Linked DNA regions of Homo sapiens: region 2 is linked to region 1. Evidence: promoter capture Hi-C in human tissues and cell types (Jung and others, 2019). All regions are on one chromosome and are shown on one strand. The core of a region is centred on a gene start or on the middle of the fragment in contact, and the rest is flanking DNA. Distances in the headings are between cores, read along the strand shown. Region 1 holds the start of B4GALNT3 (beta-1,4-N-acetyl-galactosaminyltransferase 3). Region 2 overlaps NINJ2 (ninjurin 2).

Region 1 (5,888 bases), core at 1,774-4,273:
ACAATCCAGAATTTTCTGGTCCCTGTGCTAACCTTGGCCCATTTTAGAAAACTTTGGTCAACCTCTCTTACAATGCCTCTGTAATTTGGGAGAAGAAACTTTATGATTTGACCTGCTCTGCCTCTGATATTCTGGCCAAGCAAAGACCGGGCCCTTCTACCATTATTGCAGGTGTATGGTGGAAAATATTTTTCCTTTTGGGTGCAATTTGTACAATGTGACCCTGGGCTATTCTGGGTCAGGTGCTGTAGCTGAAGTGGGAGGGTGAAAGGACAGTGAAAACCATCAGAAGAACTGGTGAGTAGCCAGGCAAATTGACACTGACAATGAATGGACATTTGTGACAATATATTATGCCACCATGATACCTCAATCCACATACTTAGTTCTGGAGCTCAGCTATTTGGGAAATTTGGGTCTCAAAATTCAGATCTTCCCCTGCTGTGACATCACCAGGAGTCAAAAAGGGATGTGGAGAAAGCGGGGTCTGAATGTGAGGGATATCTCAGTGCCAAGGCGTCACCCACAGAAGAGAAGGGAACAGAAGAGGGAGAGAGGAGAGCCACAAGAATGTCCTGGCCTCTTTTCTCTTCGACTCCTGGCACCTCTCACCATAAGCTGGAAAAGTAATGATCTTCTCAAGTTATAAAAACAAAGTAGAAATAAGAGGAGGATAAAAAATCAAGAGGTACAGGGTGATCTCCTTCTTCTTCTTAATCTCTTTGGACCATAAATTTGGCCTTTAAACTGTCAGATTTCTTTTCCTGTGGACTATCTTTTTTCCTCAACTAAACAGCATGCTTCTTGTTTTAGATCTCTCCCAGTTCCTACATAATAGATGCTTCAAGCATTTGGTTGACCGAAGTGATTGCATGAGCTTTCTCAGTCTTGAGGAGAGAATTGTGGCAAGGCTGCCACCTGTTTCCATGACAAAGTGTTAAAAGTGACTCAACCTAAAATCCAGTTGGGTTGCCCTTAGTAAGAGAGGGACTCTATTTACAGGGCCCGGTCACTTCCCACTTGACTCAGCCGAGCTTGCACAGGCCGTGCACACACTGGCTGCTCCTATCTTGGACTTGTGGAAAGAAAGAAGAACATGAGAAGTACAGGAATCTGTGGCTTTGGAACTTCACAGAGACCTTTCCCAGGGGCTACAATTAGAGAATTGTCCTTTGGATTCACCCTTTTTGCTAAAGAACTGCAGTGAAAGTTCTGGAAGATGTTTGCTCAAAGTGCTACCCCCATCCTCAAACCTTCCTAAGTGCTAAGTGGACATTGTACCACCCACTGGAAATGCAGCTCCCATTTTTGAAGCCTTACAGTGAGGTTGGGAAAACAAGACTCACACACTCCAAGTAAGTTCCAACATATCAGATGGTGAGACAGATGGCAAGTTCTACTAAAGCTCCAGAAAGGAAGGAGTTGCTTAGGACTTGGCTGGTCCAAGAAAGCTTTATAGAATCTGAAATGGACCTTGGATAAAGGGTACAAGTTGACCAACTAGAAAAGAAAATGTGTTGGAGGGTAGTGAATAAACTCGTTTTAGCTGGAGCAGGTTTCATGTGGTCACATAAAGTTGGAAAAGGTTCTGGAAGGCCCTGAATTCTGGATTTACAGTGTGTATCTTAATCAATAAGCATTGGAAGCCATTAAATATTTTTGAGCAGGTGTGTGACTACATACGGGATTTTTTTTTTTTTTTTTTTTTTTTTGAGACAAGGTCTTGCTCTGTCACCCAGGCTGGAGTGCAGTGGCATGATTGTGGCTCACTACAACCTTACACTCCTCCCACCTCAGCCTCCCGAGTAAGTTAGGACTACAGGTGTGTGTCACCATGCCTGGCTTTTTATGAAGACCATCTGGTGGTAGTGGACAGGATGCGATGGGAAGCTTGGAGTTGGGGAGGCTAATTAGGAAAAGTCCTGTAGAAACTATTGAATATCCAACTGAGGTGAGAACAGAGAGAAGGGAAACATAGTTCTCAATTCTGTGAGAACCTCTGTCTTGGAACAGTACTTGTGTGATATTCATTTGATTTTAAAATGTCCAGGAACACTTTGATCCTTCACTTTTCCCATAGTCTCCTGACCATTTTTCCCAGAAGAGATAATGGAAAAGAAAACTGCAGTATAACTTGCTGAGTGACCTGGGGCAGTTATTCTGCCCCTTGATACTTTATCTAATTTAAATCAGATAATAATGCTTTACCTGCCTGAAGGCAGAGGACTGGAATACTGATTTTTTTTTTTTTGAGACAGGGTCTTGCTGTGTTGCCCAGGCTGGAGTGCACTGACGCAATCACGGCTCACTGCAGCCTTGACCTCCAGAGATCAAGAGATCCTCTTGCCTCAGCCTCTCAAAGTGCTGGGACGACAGCCGTGAGCCACTGTGCCTGGCTTATCTTGCTGATCTTTTCAACTCTAAGAGTGAATACTTTTCTTTTCTTTTTAAAATTCTTTTTCGGAACCCTCAAACACCTACTCTCTTCAAACAGCCATTCCAGCCCAGTCTGGGGAAAACTGCTTGCTGGGGTTCACCGTGGGGGCTGTACGACTTCCCCAGCGCCTCTCGGAGATGTGGTTCAGGCTGGGAAGAAAGGTCTTCAAATCTCAACTGGAAAACGAAGCTATGTCTGCGTTAAGCGTCCAGTGGCTCCCGTGATATTTCACGCCTACTGGTTTCGTCAAGCAGGGAGTCGGGTCGTTGCTGTTGGCGACGAAAGGCTCTGAGGCTAAAGCCTTGGGCGTCGCCCAAACCAGCCTCTACTTCGCTTCTGCCTAAAACCACACCGTTAGGCGCCTGGGTGGTGACTCGGTTTCCCTCGGTCACCCAGAGTCCGCATCATCACTCGCCCCCTCCTCATCCCACCCGTTCCCAGTCGGGGGAGGCACCAGGCACCAGTTCTCTGGCCCCACCTCTCGCTCCCCTAGGGAAGCCGAATGGCCTCTTCGCGTCCCTGGCTTCTCGGGGGCGGAGCCCACCTGTGCCCGGGGCGGGGGCGGGGGCGGGGCCGGGGGCGGGCCAGGTTCCGCGAGCAGGAGAGCCCAGAGCCCGGAGCCCGGTCCGGGGCTGGCGGGGGCGCGGGCGGAGGCAGGCGGGCGGGCGCCGGGGAAGCCTCCTTCTGGGCAGCGAGTGAGGGCGGGCGCGCAGGGAGGGAGGGCGGCAGCGAGCCTGCGACGGGAGAGGCGTGGGGAGGAGAGCCCGGCGCGGAACACACGCGCGGAGGAGGAGCCGGGCTCGGCTCCCGGAGAGACCTGCTGGGCGCCCGCGCAGCCCGGAGACCCCTCGCGCCCGGAGCATGAGCCCGAGCCCCGCCGGAGAGCGGCCGGGAGAGACGGCCTCGGCGCAGCCCTGAGACGCTGGGCCGGGACGCGGGGCGCCCTGGGCGCGGGGCCCGGCCGGGGGGCGGCGGCTCGGGGGGTTGGAGCCCGCGCTGGCGGCGGCCGCCTCGGCGCAGCGCCATGGGGAGCCCCCGGGCCGCGCGGCCCCCGCTGCTCCTGCGCCCGGTGAAGCTGCTGCGGAGGCGCTTCCGGCTGCTGCTGGCGCTCGCCGTGGTGTCTGTGGGGCTCTGGACTCTGTATCTGGAACTGGTGGCGTCGGCCCAGGTCGGCGGGAACCCCCTGAACCGGAGTAAGTAGCACCCAGGGGAGGCGAAGGGCGCGGGGGTGGGCGGCGGCGGCGGCTCCTGCGTTGGGGGGACCCGCCTCTCATCCCATCCTCAGACCCGATTTCCCACCCATTTCTCCCTCAGGTGCCCGGCGTCGCCCCGCGCGTACTCGGGGAGAGCTGCGGGCGGGGGAAGCCGCGGGGCCGAGCGCAGAATTCCCGAGCCCGGGCCTGCCCGCCGGCCACGTGGGTCCGGGGCACCCTGGGGGCTCCTCGCGTCTCCCCTCGGAGAGCGACCCGGAGAGAGGCTCCCCGCCCGTCCCGCCGAGACGCTGGCGGAGACCGGGCCCCTCCAGCCGCTCCGGGCTTGCGGTTCCCGGGGAGGAGGTCCGTGGGGTCCACGCGCGAGCTAGGGATTCGGGTGCGGGATGCCCTCGGCCGTCCACACCCAGGCGCGCGCTCCAGTCCGCGCAGCCCAAACTTTGCCCACCGCCTTCTGTTTGGCTCACTCCGTTTCCTCTCCTGCTGCATCTTCTAGGGGGGTTCTTTTTTACCATACCTCGGAGAGTCCCGTCTCTTCCCCGCTTCCCATACGTCGCTCCTCTCCCAGCCTCCGTCCTCGGCTCTTTGAATCTCCCACCTCCTCGCTGCGCCCTCTTTCTCCTGTTCGGGCCGCCCCTTCTGCCACTTTTCTGAACCCTGAGCAAATCTACCAAACTCCCCAGTTTAAGGAGATGATGGACAGCACAGTGGACCGGGCAGCAGGTAGATTCCTACTTCTGTTTTTAACTTAGCCAAAGCCACTTAATATTTCCGTGCCTCAGTTTCCTCCTAGGAAAACAGGAGAGCGTGGTCTCTTTGCCTTTTTACATCAATAGGTATGGCTGTGCGAGGTGGTTTTCAACGTACTGTGGATGGGCCTAACAAAGTAAAACTGACAGTGACAGGGGCCGTAAAAGATCCTGTAATAGTTGGGAAAAGAAATGGAGAAACTCCCGTTACTACCAGGTGCCCAACGCAAGCCCGGGGAGCCGAGGTTCAAAGTTCTGGCACGTGGCCTCCCATGCCTTCACTTTCCTCCCGCTTTGGGGAAACTCGGACAGAGTGGCTGAGCAAGCAGCTGAGAAGATACTCTGACTCTGACCTGTCGTCGTGTCAGCTTCTCTACCCAGAGTTGGGTGTGGTGCTGTGCCTTCTCTTGTGGCCAAAGAGAGAGAATTACTAGGGACAGTCGCTGAGCTGGTTCAGGTTGGAAATGTATATTTATGGCCTAACCTTTCTGTGGTGATGGAAATCATTCCGGCTGTGAGTTAGAGGAGACTGGCTCTGCCACTAACTAGCGGGGGAATCAAGGGAAAAACGACAGCTTCTCAGGTGAAAATGAGGCCTTTGGTCCAAATGATCTCCAAGGTGTCTTTCAGTCTGGATACGAAGACTGATCTGCACGCAAGCGTTTCCAGGGCCAGAGAGCTCAGCACATCACCAGGAAGCCATAGCTTCCACCCCGGGGCCACGACTCCAAGCAGCAGAGCCCCTTCCTCTGATGACCAAAATCTGCCGCCCATAGTGAATTCTTCCCTCCTCTGGGCCTTGTTCTTCCTTCTGAAAGACAGAGAGTGAATCTATTCTCCCCCGCCATGGCCACTCAGGCCCAAATGGATGAGCTCCTTTGGAGTGTGTGTGGGTGGGGGCCTGGGAGGCGACACCTCCTCCCAGTGTAGCCATCATTTTGTTTAGCCAGTGGGATCTTGTGCACAAATTAAAAACAGAGAGAAAGGCAGTTGCTTTGTGACCTTGGAATCAGTAACCTCCCTTTCTCCCTCTCCTCACTTTTCTTTTACCTCCGGTGTGTTTTCTCCCCAAACCTGGATCTAGTTTGCCACAGTCATAATCTGACACTCTGGCCCTCGACCTCTGCCTCTGTCTCCCGTGGGCCGCCTCATTCCGAGCCATCAATTCTTGAGTCTGTTGGGTTCCCCTCCCAGAAGAATCTTAACTCTCTGACTGGGTTTCCTTATTTTTTATTTTCTTTTCCAAACCAATTATCCAGAAAACTCTTCCCAGCCTCTATGCCAGAATTGACTTCGTTTCCTTACTCATGGTTTTTAACAGGAGGCTAAGCTCACACACTGATGCACCTTGTTTCCTCTCTCCTCTTAGAACCCTGAAATTCATCTATTGTGCAGGGTGTCTTTTTGTCCTGCGCTGTCCCGTTATATTCTACTCTCGATTTCCCTGTGGAATAAGATTTAGACTGGAGCTGTGGTTTCTGCCTCCTTGTC
Region 2 (5,888 bases), core at 2,171-4,670, 140 kb after region 1:
AGCAGGAGTGAACTCTGTGTAAACGATAGATGTTGCGTGATAATGATGTGTCAACGCAGCTTCATTAGCTGCAACAAATGGACCCCTCTGCTGGGGGATGTTGATAATGGGGGCGGCTGTGCGTATGTAGGGACAGGAGGCATATGGGGAGTTTCTGTACCTTCCTCCCAATTTCGCTATGAATTTCGCTGTGAATTTTACTCTAAAAAAATAAAGTTTAAAAAGAAAGAAACAAACAAACAATAAAACCAAAGACAAGATAGTGACTCAATGGAGAAGAATTTTCCAAATATAAAAAAGTGGCAAGCTGAGTGCGGTGGCTCACACCTATAATCCCAGCACTTTGGGAGGTTGAAGCAGGGGCATCCCTGGAGGCCAGGAGTTGGAGACCAGCCTGGGGGACATGGCAAAATCCTGTCTCTACCAAAAATACAAAAAATTAGCCGGGCGTGGCGGCGTGTGCCTGTAGTCCCAGCTACAGGAGGCTGAGGTGGGAGGATCACTTGAGCCCAGGAAGTCGAGGTTGCAGTGAGCCATTATTGCACCATCCCACTCCAGCCTGGACGATGAGAGTGAGACCCTGTCTCAAAAAAAAAACAAAAAAAAATGGCAGAATTCACAGTCGAAAAGATAAATAAACATAAAAAAGTTAAGCTTCTGTCACATGAAAAACTTGTTAAAATTAAAAGTCACGTCATAACTATTACAAATTTATACCCTAAACCAAATAACACACCTATTAAGTACAATTATGATCCCAGTTTTCTAAAATAAAACAAAATGCCTTAATCTACAAAGGGGAAAAATGGAAGGCGAAACACTACGTGGTTGGTAGTTGTAGGCTGTGGGTTTCCGGGTGATGGCTGGTTCCACCATCTGTGTGACCTTGTGCAAGTCAGTTCCCCCTTCTGTGCCTCAGTCTCCCCATGTGTAGCATGAAAATGATAATGGCACCTTCCTGACAGGGTTGCTATGAGCACTACCTGGGTTACTGCGTGTAAAGTACTTGTAAGAGTGTGCGGCACTCAATAAATCTCAGTGTTGCTATTATTATACGTTTTCTTACAGATGGGCTTTTGAGATTTCCACTGTTTACCCAGGATACTAAGGGTTGTACTAAGAACATGGTGACACAGGAGAACATAGTCTGACATGGACAGACTTAAAGATTATAAGGAACAAACAAGTGAAAATAGGTCAGACAAATCAAAGAGTAAGGGCAGCACATATTATTCATGTTACATAAAACCAAGGAGCTGTTCCTTGTATATGATGAATTGAAGAAGTCTCGAAGACATTGCGTCTTGAGGCAAAGTAGGGCCAAGTGAAATTTCCACTTCTCTTGCCATTGGCCAAGAACATTTCATGGAGGAGATAGAATCTCAGAAGCTGAAGAAGAGGCGAATGTATTAGTGGGAGTTACCATTAACAATGAACACCAAGAAGTGTCGCAGGAGCCTGCACCTCGGCAGTGCAGCCAACTCTGCACTGAAGGTGTGGAGGGTCTGGGGCATTGTTGCTTTTGGGGAATGCTGGGCTATTACAGGCCAGAGGGCCCAGAGGCCTTTGCCTTGTTGAAGCCCTCTAGTATAATGCTGGACCCTTCTGGTTTAAAGGAACATTTATTATCACTAGTAAGATTTTTCTTTGTAGCTCTGGGCTAATTTATGTAGGTAGGAGGTCCCCTGCGGAGAAAGCTTGGTCTCTCGTATATAAACACAAGCATCTGCAGATAAGTTTCCTGTAAGGAAATGAGCTTGTTAACGGGTGGGAAAGGGAAGAACTGCTCACTCACACAATCGTGTATAATGTGTGTGTATGCGTGTGTGTCTGTGTATAGATATGTACAGACAGCACTTTGCCAACACCCTGTTTCTGGTATGCGCAAGGATGTTTCCATACTTGGCTGCTTCACAGGTGTTTTCACTGACCTCCCCCTGGGCACCGAGGGGGTAAGTGCGGATCTACGTTCAGCAGGTAGCTGTGTCCACAGCTCCATTCCGCCCCCACCCTCCTCCTTGCCCTCCCTCTGCCCAGAGGGAGGAAACTGGCAGTGAATTCCAGAGAGGACTGGAGAGGGCTGCCCGAGCTTGCCCATCTTACCAGACAGGGCTATGTCTAAGGTGTGAGTGCTGTGGACCTGGCCATAGGCCACTTTCGAAGGAGCTCACCCGTGACTCAGCTTGGGCTGTGAGAAATGAGGAGAAAGGGGGGGAGACATTTAAAACATGGTCATCAATTCAATCTAATTAGAGTCATTTGAGGTCCACCTAATAGACACCAAACTGTTAACAGCAATTATCTTTGGCCGATAGAATTAAGGAAAATTTTAATCCTGTTTAATATTATTTTCTACAATATTTTAATTTTAACTTTTTTTTTGAGACAGGATCTTTCTTTGTCATCCAGGCTGCAGTTCAGTGGCACAATCACGGCTCACTGGAGCCCCGACTTCCTGGGCTCTAGCGATCCTCCCACCTCAGCTTCCCAAGTACCTGGGACCACAGATGTGCACCACCACACCCGGCTAGTTTTCATATTTTTGGTAAGGACGGGGTTTCACCATGTTGGCCAGGCTGGTCTCGAACTCCTGGGCTCAAGTGATCCACCTGCCTCGGCCTCCCAAAGTGCTGGGATTACAGGCGTGAGTCACTGCGCCCAGCCTACAATGCTTGTATTTTTGTTACAAGGATGTATTTCTTGTACCAGCCGAAAAAGAGAGAAATATTGAAATAAATAAAGCACAAATTTGGAAAGTATTCCAGGCCGGGTGAGGTGGATCATGGCTGTAATCCCAGCACTTTGGGAGGCCGAGGCGGATGGATCACCTGAGGTCAGGAGTTCGAGACCAGCTTGGCCAACATGGAGAAACCTTGTCTCTACTAAAAATACCAAAAAACTAGCCAGGTGTGGTGGCAGGCGCCTGTAATCCCAGCTACTTGCGGGGCTGAGGCAGGAGAATTTCTTGAACGCGGGAGGCGGAGGTTGCAGTGAGCCGAGATTGCGCCGTCGCACTACAAGACAGAGACTTCATCTCAAAAAAAGTATTCCTCCCCCCGCCCCAGTTAATTTGTCAGTGGATAAGAAATGAGAATGACGAAGCTAAATCTTAGACATTTGAGGGGGTCATAGCCCCCAAGAAAAGGGTGAGTGTCCTAGCTACAGCACAAGCCATCACACGTTGAGCAGCGTGTAAGACCTCACAACATGATCTCTGCAACATCCTACAAGGGGGTATTATCCCCCCATTTACTGGTGAGAAAACAACTCAGAGAGGTTAAGAGACTTATCAGGATGCCACCCATGTTCGTGGCTTCATTGGAATTTGAACCCTGACTTGCCTCAGTAGAGTTGGGAGATTAGGACCACTCAGTCCCAGCAAGTCTGGAAGTGCGGAGGCCCTCCCAGCCCCACGACTGCGCTTGGCCTACTGCCTCTCCTCCTCAGCTTGGTTGGACCTGCACCCCAGCACGCCCGGGGGGCTCACATTCCTCCCCGAGATGCCGCCACTGATTCACCATGGTGCCAGTGTCCCATTGCCCGTCTCGGGCACAGGAGTAGCCGTGCACTCAGGATACCTCTGATGCCAAGGTTTGAGCAGCTCTGGCCCAGCCCGCCTCCTTCTGCCCAGCTGCCAGGGCCCCGATACTCAGCCCTCCCCTGCCTGGTTTCTGAGTCTGAGGAATGTGCCCAGAAGCAAATTGGCGCTGAGATTCACATTTACTCCTTTACTCCTTCCGAACGCCTGAGCCACTGGGGGGTCTTGGCTACTTCCAAGCTTCAATTCCTCGGGGCTGAATTTCTCAGTGATCTTGGGAGGTCCTTGCAGCTGAGTCCTTCTGGGAGACATGCAATGAAGGTGGTCAAGGCTATGAGGGGAAAAGGTGGTCAAGATAACGAGGGAAATGGAGCTAGAGGCTTTACAAAATGGGTGGGGGCCAGGTGCGGTGGCTTAGGCCTGTAATCCTAACACTTTGGGAGGCCGAGGTGGCAGAATGCCTGAGCTCAGGAGTTAGAGACCAGCCTGTGCAACATGGTGAAACCCCATCTCTACTAAAATACAAAAAAAGTTAGCCGGGCATGGGTGATGCACACCTGTAGTCCCAGCTACTCAGGAGGCTGAGGCGGGAGAATCACTTGAACCTGGGAGGCGGAGGTTGCAGTGAGCTGAGATCGAGCCACTGCACTCCAGCCTGGCAACAGAGGGAGACTCCATCTCAAAAAATAAATAAATAATAAAATTAAATTAAAAAGGGTGGAGTGGAGAAACAGTTTGAAATTAGACGGATGGCAAGGCGGGTGGCAGAATTTTTTTGGGGTGTGTGTGTGTGTGTGTGTGTGTGTGTGTGTGTGTGTGTGTGTGTTTTGAGACAGTCTCCCTCTGCTGCCCAGGCTGGAGTGCATGGTGTCATCATAGCTCACGGCAACCTTGACCTCCCGAGCTCAGGCAATCCTCCCACCTCGGCCTCCAAAAGTGCTGGGATTACAAGCATGAGCCACCATGCCTGGCCCAGAATTGTTGTAAGTTTCTTTTTTTCTATTTGTTAGGGTTGTTCTAGTATTTATGTAATTTAAAAAAATCAATCTTGAGTTTTCAAAGGGTGAAAACAAGATATGTAGAAATCTATCTGAACTCTCAATAGTTAAAACACTCCCAATTCCTTTGGTAGGGAGATCTCTGTCCTTTGAAAACAGGTCCACCTTGACCAGAAGACTTACTATTTAGTTCTCACCTCCCTGTGATTTGCTCTCTCCTGCATTTGCAGAACTGGCAGAGCATTGTGAATGCTCAGAATTTGTGGAATAAATGCATGAACTGGGTTTGCATCCTCATTTAGAATGCATGTAACTAGGTAGCTGCTTTTTGTATTATTTACTATGAATTTAAAAATATATCTTTTTAAAAATTAACTTTAAAAAAATAAAACAGGCCGGGCGCAGTGGCTCACGCCTGTAATCCCAGCACTTTGGGAGGCTGAGGCGGGCGGATCAGGAAGTCAGGAGATCGAGACCATCCTGGCTAACACAGTGAAACCCCGTCTCTACTAAAAATACAAAAAAAATTAGCCAGGCGTGGTGGCGGGCGCCTGTAGTCCCAGCTACAGGGGAGGCTGAGGCAGGAGAATGGTGTGAACCTGGGAGGCGGAGCTTACAGTGAGCCAAGATCAGGCCACTGCACTCCAGCCTGGGCCACAGAAGCAAGACTCCGTCTCAAAAAAAAAAAAAAATAAATAAATAAAACAAATAGCCAGGTGCGGTGGCTCACGCCTGTAATCCCAGCACTTTGGGAGGCCAAGGCAGGTGGTTCACCTCAGGTCAGGAGTTTGAGACCAGCCTGGCCAACATGGCAAAACCCCATCTCTACTAAAAATACAAAAAAATTATCTGGGTGTGGTGGCGGGTGCCTGTAATCCCAGCTACTCGGGAGGCTGAGGCAGGAGAATCACTTGAACCTGGGAGGCGGAGGTTGCAGTGAACCAAGATCATGCCAAGGTGGCAGTGAGCCAAGATCAGCCTGAGCGATAGAGTGCGACTCTGTGTCAAAAAAATAAATAAATAAAATAAAATGATTTCCATGGGAATAAGAGAGTAGAGTCTGACCCAGTTTATTATCTGTCTGACTTGATACACACCATTTTAAGGTACTGACATCCCCAGATGAAGCCAGTAGCAATCCCTTAATTAAATAACTATTCAATTAAGAACAGCTGTGTCACTTCAGACGCAATGTCCCGTGTGGTGATGACTGAGGAACCCCATGCATAAGGTACGCTGGAGGCTTCCACACTCAATGGGGATGACACTGGAGAACTGCAGACTGAGCCATAATCCACACACCACACAATTCACCTATTTAAAGTGTACGGTTCAGTGGCTTTTAGTATTTA

What was found. The method cuts DNA at HindIII sites, captures the fragments that hold promoters and counts their contacts. A contact is called where the count stands out against the background at its distance.
Region 2: a fragment that was not itself captured here is called in contact with the fragment with the promoter of B4GALNT3 in region 1 in 2 of the 25 tissues and cell types used here (mesenchymal stem cells and thymus).

Annotation. Positions count from the first base shown.
Region 1 is chr12:456,916-462,803 of GRCh38, forward strand. It overlaps B4GALNT3 (beta-1,4-N-acetyl-galactosaminyltransferase 3), which reads left to right and starts at 3,024. Exons shown (of 20, transcript NM_173593.4): 1 at 3,024-3,630. The coding sequence starts at 3,462. RefSeq lists an enhancer at 2,192-3,175. The HindIII fragment of the contact is 8,839 bases long and covers 1,671-5,888 here.
Region 2 is chr12:596,336-602,223 of GRCh38, forward strand. All of the region lies in intron 1 of NINJ2 (ninjurin 2), which reads right to left. Among named protein-coding and RNA genes, the nearest start is that of NINJ2-AS1, 32 kb to the right of the region's middle. The HindIII fragment of the contact is 6,301 bases long and covers 271-5,888 here.